Regions from separate parts of the Homo sapiens genome. Here region 2 is linked to region 1. Evidence: promoter capture Hi-C in 16 types of primary human blood cells and fetal thymus (Javierre and others, 2016). All regions are on one chromosome and are shown on one strand. Each heading gives the region's core, a stretch centred on a gene start or on the middle of the fragment in contact. The rest is flanking DNA. Distances are from core to core; before and after follow the strand shown. Region 1 holds the start of XIRP2 (xin actin binding repeat containing 2). Region 2 has its middle 190 kb from the start of XIRP2.

Region 1 (6,509 bases), core at 913-3,412:
TTCTGCTTAGGAACTATACCAATGTTTCTTAAAAATGTCACTCTCTTATTTGTCCATGCTGTTTTCATTTTGTTAAACGAGTCATTTTGTTAAATGAGTCTTTGGAGATGAGAGGGATACATTAACCTTTTCTTGTGGGAAAAACATTTGGACTCAGAAGTAAAAATGGATCCCTCACTGGTCAGAAGCATTGACTCAAAGGCATGCCTCATTTCATGCCATTCATCTTCACTCTCCTGGGCCTCCAAACCCCAAATGTGCCAACAGTAGTCCCATCGCAACATTATGTGGGCATTACAGTTCTACACATCCTTTTCTGTTGGGGATCTTGCTTTTTTAAAAAAACAGAAGTAGCAAAATGATGCTGATTCTTACTTGGTTTCTCATAATTACCGATAATATTTTGTTTAAAATAGTGAGAATCAGCCCTGCCACAACTTGGTCTTGAATGCTCTCATCTTTATATCTAACCAGTCACCTTACATGTTCAATATTCCAGCTGAGTATCACTTCCAGATATGTTCAGCATAGTTATTCAATAGGAGTACTTAATAAAGACAAAATGTCACCCAAACTGTATTTTCTCTCTGTGTTATGTGGAATTTGCCTGACTTTGGTCAGGATATATTTTGTCTATCCAGTTCTCTGTGTCTACTGTTTTTGTCACTCTGTCGTGGAAGGAAATTAAGTTGATTTGACAGGATTTATTTTTCACAGTGCCAAGGAGATTTTACCCAGTAACTCATGATTTTCTAGGTGCTTGAAAATTGATTTTTTGATGATATGTTTCAGTAAGTTTTCAACTAAATACTGATGCTGACAGGTCTGTAATTTCTAAAGTTATCTGTTTTTTAATCTTCCCAGAGTAGAAACAAGAAACACACCAAGATAAGTACTGCATTTAGTCTTTTTAATATAGCAGAATGTCTAAGTCCTTTTTAAGTTCATAGATGTTGAGCTAATTGTTCTTTATTGACTTTGGCAAACTCTTGGAAAAATAATTAAGTCACCAGAATTTGCAGTTCAAAATGTGACCAGTTTATAACATTAGCCTTGTAGTCGAACCTTTATATCACACCCTGTATCGTCTCCAAATACCATATCATAACTGCCCTATATTTTAAGCTTTCAAACAAGATTTCTGAAACCTACAGTTTGAATACTGGCTAAGCACTGCAGTTATTTATATAATTTATGGTCATTTTTATATATGAAAATTCATTGATTAAAGTTGTAAGATTTAATTTATTATATTAAAATGCATTTCTGCTATTGAATTCCTTTATGCAAAAAAATCAACATTGTCTTTAGTAGTATATCACTGAACCCCTTATATATAAAAACCCCAGTTTGGAACAAAGAGCTATTAGATGACCAAATAAGAATCAAATTAGACTCTGCAATTAGAGTCTGCGAAGAGAAAGACTTTACTTATTTGAAATAGTATATAGCTTACTATATGTAAAATAAAATAAAATTATCTCAGAAGCTGTGGTCTCCTATAATTTGTAGAAGATGATAACTGATATCGCTAAGCACTTTTTGGTTGCAAATAACTATACTTAAATACTGCTAATAAAAGCTGACATCCGCTGATCACTTGCTTCATACCAAGCACTATCCTAAGTTCTTTATGAGCGTGATTTCATTTATTTTGTTCATCTCACAACAGTATAGTTAGAACATACTATTATCATCCCAATTTTCAAGTGAGGAAACTAATGTTTGGATATATTAAATAATGCATCTAATGTCATATACTAGTGTTTGAGTAGGAATTTGAAGCCATTTGGTTTGAATCTGGACTCTATGTTCATGATCATTATCCAAAATTCTCAGGTGTCCCAACCCCTCACAAATGACTTTGAATTAAATATTAGGTTTATTTTTATATGTATGGAACCTGACGCACAGTGATAATTAAAGTGTAGCTCAGCCATAGAGTGAGCCATTGGTCACTATGGGTCTTTGGGTTAAAACATACCTTTAAGAATATGTAGGAAAAAAATGATAATAGCTAACTCAGCAGCATTCATTAATTCATCTGCAGCAGATTAACTTGTTCCAAAATAATGAGATAATCTGATTCTGATGGAACATGGAGCAGACAAATTCTTCTAGAACCCGACCTGTTTCTATGTGGGTGTATCCAGGAAGTCAGGATTATTTGGAGAAATCTGGCAGGTCTCTAGGCAGACAAAAGGGAACATCTGGTAGGGACTGGGACATGTAGAAAAAAGGTAAGATTTTCCTAAGAAAAACCACTTCTTTCATAATTTTTTCTACACATACATGCTTCTCTTTGATAGTTTCTGACAGGACACTATTTTGCCTCTCTCTCCCTATTTCTTTTAAGTAATATACATTAAATTAGCATAGAATCACAGCATCATCAACAAATTCAGGCTAGCGCTTAGTGACAGACACTGCTGCTAGAATCTCTAGTTATTCATTTGTTTTTCTAACTAAGAAACAATTTAATCTGGGGCAGCAATGTGCCCAGAGAAAAAATAGTTAATCTCTCAGACTCAAAACACGTAAGTTTGGCTATATATTATATTTTTGGACACTGAAAGATAGTCAGGGACTTCTGGGGAAGAAATTTAACAAAAACAGCATCACCCAAAGAAAGCATCTGGGCAATTCTCCTTTCTTCCTTCGTTCCATTGAGTCAGGTCAGAGAGGACTCGCCAGGGACAAAGCCATGACCCTCAGGGACCCAAGGGCATGAGCCTGCAGCTGACAGCCCCATTCTGAATAAGCATTCAGGCACACAGACCAGGGTGGTTGTTGCAAACCCCTCAGCAGCTGCCTCCTGGCACAACCACCCACTAACATGTGATCTAGCAGACAAATGGAAGCTCTTCTTACCCCACTTCTTAGGCACTCCAACAAGGGTTCTGAATTCTAAAAACAGCAAAAAACATTCAAATTGTTACATATGAAATGCTTTCCTGCACCTTTCTATCTCAGAGATGACAGCTGTCCCTCCTCCACTCTCTCCCCACTCGCCCCCAGACACCTCCCTAAACAATTTCTGTGCCAAGATGAAGAGGATGTCCCAGGCCATGGGGCTTCTGGCCTTGAAGGGCTGCTGCAGTGGAGCCAGGGCACAGGGTAGGTGAGACACAGCAGAGGTTCTGGCCCAGGTCCCTGGCCTCTCCTCCTGCAGGTGGCGTTTATTTATTCAAGGGGAGCAACCATGTTCATTTTCCCAACAATGTGGCACCATATTTTGCTTTCCTCTCCACTTCCTTCTTCCTTGCAGCCTTCTCCCACTGTTTCCAGATGATCACCAGCCAGGCAAGGCCCACCTTGGCTTGCTCTGTCTCTCCTGCTAGTGCATTTTCTCCTTAAAAGCTCCTTTAGCCTGTCCAGATCCACTTGTTTGACCTTTCTGGTTGTCTATCCTACCTGCTTGGGGTTCTTGATGTTGATGAGTCCTTCCATGCCTTTGTGCTTTTGCTGGTAGTCATTTTCTTCATTTTCATTCTCTCATAAGTCTAGATTTCTTCCCCTTTTTGGGGTAAGCCCCATCTCCACCTTCTTCTCCTTGTTATTCTTCTCCATAGCAAGCAATCCTCAAGCAGGTATTGAATTAATGAATGGTGTTGTGTCTTCTCCAGTTCATTAATATTTCTGTTGATGTAGCTAAGTTTTATTTACTTTTTAGTTTTATTTTATTTTATTTTATTTGAGACAGAGTCTTGCTCTGTCACCCAGACTGGAGCATAGTGGTGTGATCTCGGCTCACTGCAACGTCCACCTCCCAGGTTCAAGCGATTCTCCTGCCTCAGCCTCCTGAGTAGCTGGTATTACAGGCACGTGCCACCATGCTGGCTATTTTTTTGTTTTTTAGTAGAGATGGGGTTTCACCGTGTTAGCCAGGATGGTCTCAATCTTCTGACCTCATGATCCTCCCACCTCAGCCTCCCAAACTGCTGGGATTACAGGCATGAGCCACCGTGCCTGGCCCCTAAGTTTTATTTTTTAACTGTGGGTTCATAGGCTTCGGGCATCAGAATCACCTCTTGGTGCTTTCTAAGAAGGCCAGTTCCCAGTTCAAATTCCAGACCTTGAAACTAGCTGAAACTCCCCGAGTGGGCCCTTAAGAATCTGCAGTGCTAAGGACATCTCAGATGATGTTGGTGCACAGAAAAGGTGAGAACCAGAGCATCTGAACAGACTGTAAATCCCTGAAGTCTGGATTTATGTTTTATAATTCTTTGACAGCTCTCAATAGTAAACTCTAAAAGTTTGTTTTTATTTTTATTATTCACACTGAGATTCATATTTGAAATTTCATGAGAGCAAATTTTGCATGCTTCTTTTATTACAGATGTATTCTGTATGTGGGTGTAGCAGAAGCTGATATGACAGATCATCAGCTTTGTCCTAAATAACAGGTATTGTCTGGTACGCAGCCTGCTTGGGATAATCCATGAAATATTTAACAAATTTCTTCTTTTGTTAAATACTAATTACCCATATCCTCCAGACAGTTTTCTGGGACTCTGAGATGGGTCCTTTTACTAAGGATGAGTTTATTTTTCTATAGAATTTGGAAACAAAAGCTGCTTCAATCAGCCTTTAACGAGTAAACTTGTAAGCTGAGTACCTAGCACAAACAGGGGTTATGGTTGAGGGTGCACTTCTCTCTTCCATGACTTACTAAATAATGCAGCTCCCAGAGCTGGCTATGAGAGATTTGGTGTCTTGTAGCTGCTATCTGGCGACGTATGTCCATCATGCTTGATGTTCATTAGTTAGATGAGATCAGTAAGTTAAAGAACTGTTAAATTTGTGTTTTCCTTTAATGGATACGTGACTGTGGTAGCTGAGTCACAGGACAGAAATTTGACAGAAAAAGACATGGCGGTAAGATAAGCTTATTGCAAATATACAACTTCATAAATTCTTCTAATAACTTGTCTTAGCAAGGTGCCTTAGCTGGTTCACTTAATAAATGTGAATGTGGAGATAAAAGAAAGAAAAATAAACAAATGCATTGTTCCTATCTCTTTTTTACATATATGAATTATGCATGCATCCTATTAGTGGGAAATTAAGTAATGTACTATGTTAGCTACATTTTTGGCAGAAAAATTAATTGTTCTGATAAACCTAGCATAGCTGGAGAAGTTAATGTAATTGACAATATATAATAATAAAGCTTTAGTTAAGTTTTTTCCTTAATATTGAAAATGCCATTTCTTTGAATCTCTTAACTAATTTCTTTCACATTCTTATCAGATAGATATTGAGCAACTATCTGCCAAAACTAATTAAAATTTCCCTCCCAGAAAAGATCAATTACTTGCTTTATTTGGAAAAACACTTTCAGTTGTTGTCTTTTGATTTTTTTTCTCTGAAAAAAAAATTGTTGTCTGATAATCTTTCTTAATCACAACAAAAATTCTGAAAGCTTGGTAACAGAAAATGTAACCAAAGCATGAAAATAAGTTAAATTACACTAATATTAGCATTATAAACATAATCCTTGGGATTCTTACCCTTGTCAGAAGGTGCTAGTTTGACATATTTACCTAACCTTAACTTGCTTTCTACAGTTGCAAGACTGAGGATTTCCTTGGCAGAGAATCTGGCTTAGTGACAACATAAATTTGGCAGGTTCTTGGAAACCTTTTGTTTTGTAGTTTGAACCTTCAGCTTGCCGATGCTGATATGCCTCACAATCTTCGTCTGTTCTGTCATCTTATTGGGATCATTAACTACTATTTTGAAGGATGCTAGAATTATATTGCAAAATATTTTCCCCCTTCAGACACATGTTGTAGTTTCCAAAGATGAGAAACCCACTAGAAAAATTTCTATCCAACAATACCTTTTTATTCCATTCTGATGTTTTTTATTCTCAAATTGGCACAGGCTTCATTCTGATTAACAAAAATATTTTAGAATTCTAGTTGGTATTGTACTTGTTGAATTATACCTGAAAAAAATATTTAAAGTCATGTTTAAAGGGCCTCAGAAAATGCTGTGATCTCCAAAGCACACTGGGCCGGAGTATGGTGGGTGTTGGGAAACAGAGCAGGTAGAAATCACAGAAACAATGGGAATGAAAAGAGACATGTGTTGATCTTTCATGAAAAAAGTCAATTGCTTTGTGACTGAAATTATTCTGTGAAACAGCTCTGGCATGCAATCCAGACCCTTTGCAGCCTGCTGTGTTTTCAGAATTTCAAAGCCAACTTTAAAAATTATTGCATAGAGTAAAACAAGGTTAAACACCCTCCTGCAGAGCTTCACCTGCCTGCATCTGAGGAGAGGCTTCCTGTGAATTTCAGTAAAAGGCCTTCCATCCAGGTCCCCACAGCAAATATGTTGAGGCTTCTCAGGTTCCCAGAGCTGAAGTTTGTGTTCTTTTCTGAAATAACCTTTGATGGGTTACTTGACATAGAATGCTACAATTTTGGAGCAATGAAAAATGACATCACTTGCAGTCAGCCTCAGAGATCATTTCATAGAAGATATATATATATATATAT
Region 2 (6,458 bases), core at 2,472-4,971, 190 kb before region 1:
CAAGTGGTGTGCACCTCCCCCTGATATTGGTCCTAATATCCAGCAAGGGAGAAAATAATACTACTCTCAATATGGCAGGGGGTGTACACTTCCCATGCGATATTGTTCCTAATATCCACGGTGGGAAAGGATGATATTACTCCCAATGTCGCAGCGGGTGTACAACTCCCCTGTAATATTGTTTCTAATATTTAAGTGGGGAGAGGATGATATTACTCCCAGAATCTCAGGGGGTGTAAACCGCCCCTATTATATTGCTCTCAATATCCATGGGGGGAGAGCATGATATTACTCCCAATATCGCAGGTGGTGTATAACCCTCTTGTTATATTGTTCCTAATATCCAGGTTGAAAGAGGATGATATCACTCAAAAAATCACAGGGAGTGTACACCCCTGCCTGTGATATTGTTCCTAATACCCCGGGAAAGAGGGGATGATATTACTCCCAAAAGCGCAGGACGTGTACACCACCTTTGTGATATTGTTCCTAATATCCATGGGGGGAGAGGGTGACATTACTCCCAATAGCGCAGAAGGTGTACACCCTCTCTGTGATATTGTTCCTAATTGTCAGGGGGCAAAAGTATGATATTACTCCCAATATCACAGGGGGTATACAACCCCACATGACATTGTTCCTAATGTCCAGCGGGGGAGTGGATGTTATTAATATGCATAATCGTAGGAAGCGTACACCATCCCCTGTGAAATTGTTGCTAATATCCAGCAGGGAAGAGAATGATATTACTCCCAATATTCCAGTGGTGTACACCCCACCTGTGATATTGTTTCTTATATCCATGGGGGAAAAGGATGATATCACTACCAATATCGAAGCGGGTGTACACTCCCTCTGTGATATCCGGGTTGGGAGAGGATGATATTACTCCCAATATCAGAGGTGATAAACACCCTCCTTGTGATACTGTTTTTAATATCCAGGGGGTGAGACAATGATATTACTCCCAATATTGCAGGTGGTGTACACCCCTCCCCACCCCGTGATATTGTTCCTCATATTCAGGGGACGAGAGGATATATTACTCCCAATACCGCAGGGGATACGGGGAATAATATCACCCCCCTCTCCCTCCCTGGATATTATGATCCACGATGGACACACGGTGTTTTTATATGCTAGCTCATCCAAAAAAGTACACAAGAACTTAATTTGAATGTGTGTAGATGATGTGTTTAATTTTGTTTTGAATTTTTCTTTCACAATAGAGTAGATTTTCAACAAATCCTAGTGTTCTTTTTACAAAGAAGATCTATATTTCAGGGTTTTGCAGTCTCTTCAAGACTAGTTTATTTTTACATAAACGAAAGACCCCCAAAATGTGAGCTTTAAGGATCAAAGATTCTCTAAATTGAGTGGCTCAGTTGAACTGTAGATGGCTCTGGATTATAGCTTAGAGAGACCTTTGTTCCCAAAGCAACAAAAGGCCTTTCGTATTTATTAGAGTTATTTGGTAAAGTGCAAAAGAATAATATAATTAATATTAATTACCAAACCTGACCTTATATATGTTCACTTTATGATTTTACACACACACACACACACACACACACACACACACACACACCATAGACAAAAGAACAAAAGTCTTTAAGTATTAATAATTCAACTTATTTTCCATATTGGATATTTTGTATTGGTGAAAATAAAATTAATTATATAGGATTGCCATTTAATTGAAAAAATATGAACCTTGAACTCACTTTGGTTTGGAAACTCTGTTCTGTTTTTACATTTTTGGTATGATTTAAGGCAAAGAGCCTACATTTTCTGAGCATGTATTTCTTGTCTGTAAAATGGAAGTGATAATCACGACCTATTAGTGTAGTCATGAGGAATAAGTAAAATCACAAATGTAAAGCATTGAGTCCTCTATTTGATATATAGGAACTGCTCAATAAACGGTAATTATATCAATGGGGTGATTTAATAATGTTTTCTTTCATTATTATCCTCTCCTAGGGAAAGCAATCTTGAACCTTGGGACAGCAATCTTGAACGTTGTTCCTGTTACAATCACACTTTTAAGGTTACACAGACAGCACACAAACAGCTGCTTCGTGCCTGTAATATCAGTTCCAACCCACTGGGCTTTTCAAAGAAATTGCTTTTATAAGCTAAACATGAGAGAAATAAATTTTCCCATCTTGATAACTCTGTTGGGGGTCTTATGACTTTGCTTCTTTTTTGTATTATACCATTTAGAATATTAAGGTCACTAAAAATCACTTCTTTTAGAGATACTATGACTTTCTATAACTGAATATTCCATTCTTCATGTAAAAATGAGTTGTAATAAAAGCTTTATTCTAATCATTTCAGTAGCACTGAGTATAGGGAAGTTCATCTAATGATATTTTATAATTATGATTCTCTAGGAAAAACATTCTGTACTACAACAAAACCATAAAGCTGGAAGTATTTTACCCTGTATATATGTGGGATATCAAAAAACTGTTGGCTATGTGACAAAACCTTATATGATGCCGCAAAGATTATAAACAACTTATTTCTAACAATTTTCCTGCAAGTTGTGCCTAAAAATAAACACATGAGTACATTTTGGAAATGTTAGAAGTATATAATATCTGCCCTATTTTATAACATGTTTCCAGAATTTAATAATATTAGGACAGAGGGAGAAATGTGCTGGAGGAGAGAAAGTGGGAGGTAATTTTTAAATATTTGCTCTAATATGTAAGAGACATGTTCATTGCCACCTTAATACTAATCAGTATACAAAAGGCAGCAGAACTGCAATGCACACTTGCAAACTATTGCAAACTTGAGCAATATTTCAGCAAAATAAATTTAGTTATTAAATACAAATACAGAATTACTAAATCAGATATAGACTTTTGTACAAGTGTGAGCTTGCACTAAAGGAAGAATAAAATGTTTTGTTTTATATTTCCTTTTTAAAAAATTTAGGTTTTTACTGTTTACTTTTAATATCAGACTCTGTATAAACTTATTTTATCCTTATAGCTGGAATTAAAGACCCAACTAGTGAGTTCACTATTAAATATTTTCCTATGACACCAGCAGAGGACAGCAGAACATAGACATTAATGCTAACCCTTAAACCTATTTTCTTTTATGTCAAGAGCAAAGTTGGAAAATGGCATACAATCTGATTTCGCTTAAGTGGGATGTATGTAGCAGATGACAGTTCTTTTTACAGGATGTTTATGATTAAATAGAAATAGTCTTGGAATCTCAAAAGACTAGATAACTCTGTCAATACAAACTGAGCAGCCGCCACTACCTTATTTTATGTTCTTTGAATTTATAAATGAAAAGGTCACTCAAGTTGTTTTTCAATGAATGTATGGCCTATTGAGTAAATAATCTATGATTTAAATTGACTAGATTAAGAAAGGTAGGAGAGAAAGACAGACATGAGAGTTGTGAATAGAGCAATATAAGCCTTGCCTTTTTTTTAAGGGCTTCTCTGCTCTTACTCAATGTCCTATGCCTTCATCTTTCTGCCTCTCGCAGACATTAACCAATGTAATATCCATCATTCTGCCTTTCTAGAAAAGTTAAATTGGGACAATCCCAACACATTCTAGAATTCTTCAGGTGAAGATGTATGACTTTGCTCCTTAAGAACAAAAGAATCAATCAGTTAAGTATAATCAGCAAACTTTGTAGTATTGTTTTAATGGAAAAAGAAGTTCATTAACACATTGATTATTTTGTGTTATAAGCAATTTACTAGCTATTTCTCCCTCTCTAACTGAGATAATATGTTCATTATCTGAAGGAATTTTATTTACTATTTAAAATAAGTATTGAAAAAGCTAATGGCCATAGGGAATGAAACTATTTTCTCCTGTTATTGGTATCAACAGGGACATCTAGTTTTTAGAGCTGAGAAGAAAGTGAAAATATACCTAGGTGTATTCTCTTCTTTTAATCCACTCATCAAACCACTGAGGGTAACAAAAAGTATGGTTATAATTATTTTGCGAATGGAGACTTTCTTTTAAGCTCTTCAGCTCGTGGGAAGTCCTCATGTCTGCTGGGGAATTTTGGAGACAAAGAACTACAGGATGTTTTTCTCTTCAACAATAGTTTCTATTAACCTGATGTTTGGCACAGAGGGCTGTAATTATGATCCCACTGATATCAGCCACCCATCAAAAATAAAGGAAAGATCTTTTGGCTCAAGCAACAAAAGGCTGAAGACGGAGGTTTTTGTACCTGATGATGTAACTGTGCAAGAATTGTGAGAAAGTATGTTGATATTGTGCTGTCCTCCTAGCTGTCTATTTGTGATGTTACTCAACTCAGCAATACCTAGTAAGTATGTACTATGGTCCTAGTAATGCATTAGGGATTTCAGGTATACAGGCATTAGACAAGTCACCTGCCCTTCAGAAGCCTTGTGGAGAGGAGGTTTCCACTGACAAAAATACAATTTAAATGCTAACTTGAAGTGACTCCTGTCAGAAAGGAAGTGTGATTTAGACATTAAATGATTCTGCTTGATGCCTAGAAGAGGAAAGAAAATTCCTCAGGCATAGAAACACATAAGATAGTATTCTACCTTGTCGCCTGTTGTAATTTACATATCTTAAGCTGGTTAAATACAAATACTCATCACTTTATACACATTCTGGCATTCTGATGAGTAGGCTCTTCTACTTTTCTCATTTTGTAAATAAGGCAATCAGAATGTTTTCAGATTAAGTGATTAGTCTAGGGCCAAAAGTGTTAAGAGTTAGGAACAGTGTTTGAATATATACTCTTTGAACTTTTTGTGTCTTGTTGAGCACAGAGTTATGGGAACCACTTCACAAACCTTCAATAATTACTATAGTAGTGGTTTTATTAAATATCCACTAAGATAAAAAATTATTTCTGCTAATTTAAAAAATCTTTCCTATTTAGGATGAGATGTTAGAGAACACCCAGAGAATAACAAAAGCAGACTAGGTTCTCCATGAACTACAACCATGCTGAAATAACACGAAGTAAGTAACTATCAAATTTGAAACTGAATGATTCCAAGCAACGCATCTTTGCAGTAAGTATTCATCATCAATGCTAAAACTATATCAGTGCTGCCAGTTTTTACCCTGTGAATCTGGAAGCTTTTCCAGGACAGACATAATGCCTTATAAAACCCTTAGTACCCTATACAATGTGATTATCTGCTAATAGGAAAGGGTTAACTTATCTAACTGATCATCTACAGGCTGGCCTCCCAGAAAAGGAGCTGGCCTCCTTGCAAAATTCCATGAAACTGGCTACGGCTGGTGCTTAGGGCAATTAACCAAGGTCAAGGGCTGTTACTTCACCACATATGATTGGTAATGTGCTTAATTTCTCCTCTACCTGCCACAATATAAAACTGCAACCACAAAATTAGGACCCAACCCCTGATCCCCCCATAGCTGAGCTGGCAGGACAGAACTAGAGCCAAAATTCTGTCACTTCATAGTGATATTGTAGCATGGTCCTTGAGCAAAGTGGGAGAGGGGTCATTGATTTTTCTTTCTTTTTTTTTTTATTATTATACTTTAAGTTTTAGGGTACATGTGCACAATGTGCAAGTTAGTTACATATGTATACATGTGCCATGCTGGTGCGCTGCACCCACTAACTCATCATCTAGCATTAGGTATATCTCCCAATGCTATCCGACCCCCCTCCCCCTACCCCACAACAGTCCCCAGAGTGGGATGTTCTCCTTCCTGTATCCATGTGTTCTCATTGTTCATTTCCCACCTATGAGTGAGAATATGCAGTGTTTGGTTTTTTGTTCTTGTGATAGTTTACTGAGAAAGATGATTTCCAATTTCATCCATGTCCCTACAAAGGACATGAACTCATCATTTTTTATGGCTGCATAGTATTCCATGGTGTATATGTGCCACATTTTCTTAATCCAATCTATCATTGTTGGACATTTGGGTTGGTTCCAAGTCTTTGCTATTGTGAATAGTGCCGCAATAAACATACGTGTGCATGTGTCTTTATAGCAGCATGATTTATAGTCCTTTGGGTATATACCCAGTAATGGGATGGCTGGGTCAAATGGTATTTCTAGTTCTAGATCCCTGAGGAATGGCCACACTGACTTCCACAATGGTTGAACTAGTTTCCAGTCCCACCAACAGTGTAAAAGTGTTCCTATTTCTCCACATCCTCTCCAGCACCTGTTGTTTCCTGACTTTTTAATGATTGCCATTCTAACTGGTGTGAGATGGTATCTCATTGTGGTTTTGATTTGCATTTCTCTGATGGCCAGTGATGATGAGCATTTTTTCATGTGTTTTTTGGCTGCATAAATGTCTTCTTTTGAGAAGTGTCTGTTCATTTCCTTCACCCACTTTTTGATGGGGTTCTTTGTTTTTTTCTTGTAAATTTGTTGGAGTTCATTGTAGATTCTGGATATTAGCCCTTTGTCAGATGAGTAGGTTGTG

The links. The method cuts DNA at HindIII sites, captures the fragments that hold promoters and counts their contacts. A CHiCAGO score of 5 or more calls a contact.
Region 2: a fragment that was not itself captured here is called in contact with the fragment with the promoter of XIRP2 in region 1 in 2 of 17 cell types (non-activated CD4 T cells and naive CD4 T cells); the score reaches 5.4 in non-activated CD4 T cells.

What each region holds. Positions count from the first base shown.
Region 1 is chr2:166,886,318-166,892,826 of GRCh38, forward strand. It overlaps XIRP2 (xin actin binding repeat containing 2), which reads left to right and starts at 2,163. Exons shown (of 11, transcript NM_152381.6): 1 at 2,163-2,240. The HindIII fragment of the contact is 3,763 bases long and covers 1,124-4,886 here.
Region 2 is chr2:166,697,195-166,703,652 of GRCh38, forward strand. No RefSeq gene overlaps it. Among named protein-coding and RNA genes, the nearest start is that of XIRP2, 190 kb to the right of the region's middle. The HindIII fragment of the contact is 2,800 bases long and covers 2,322-5,121 here.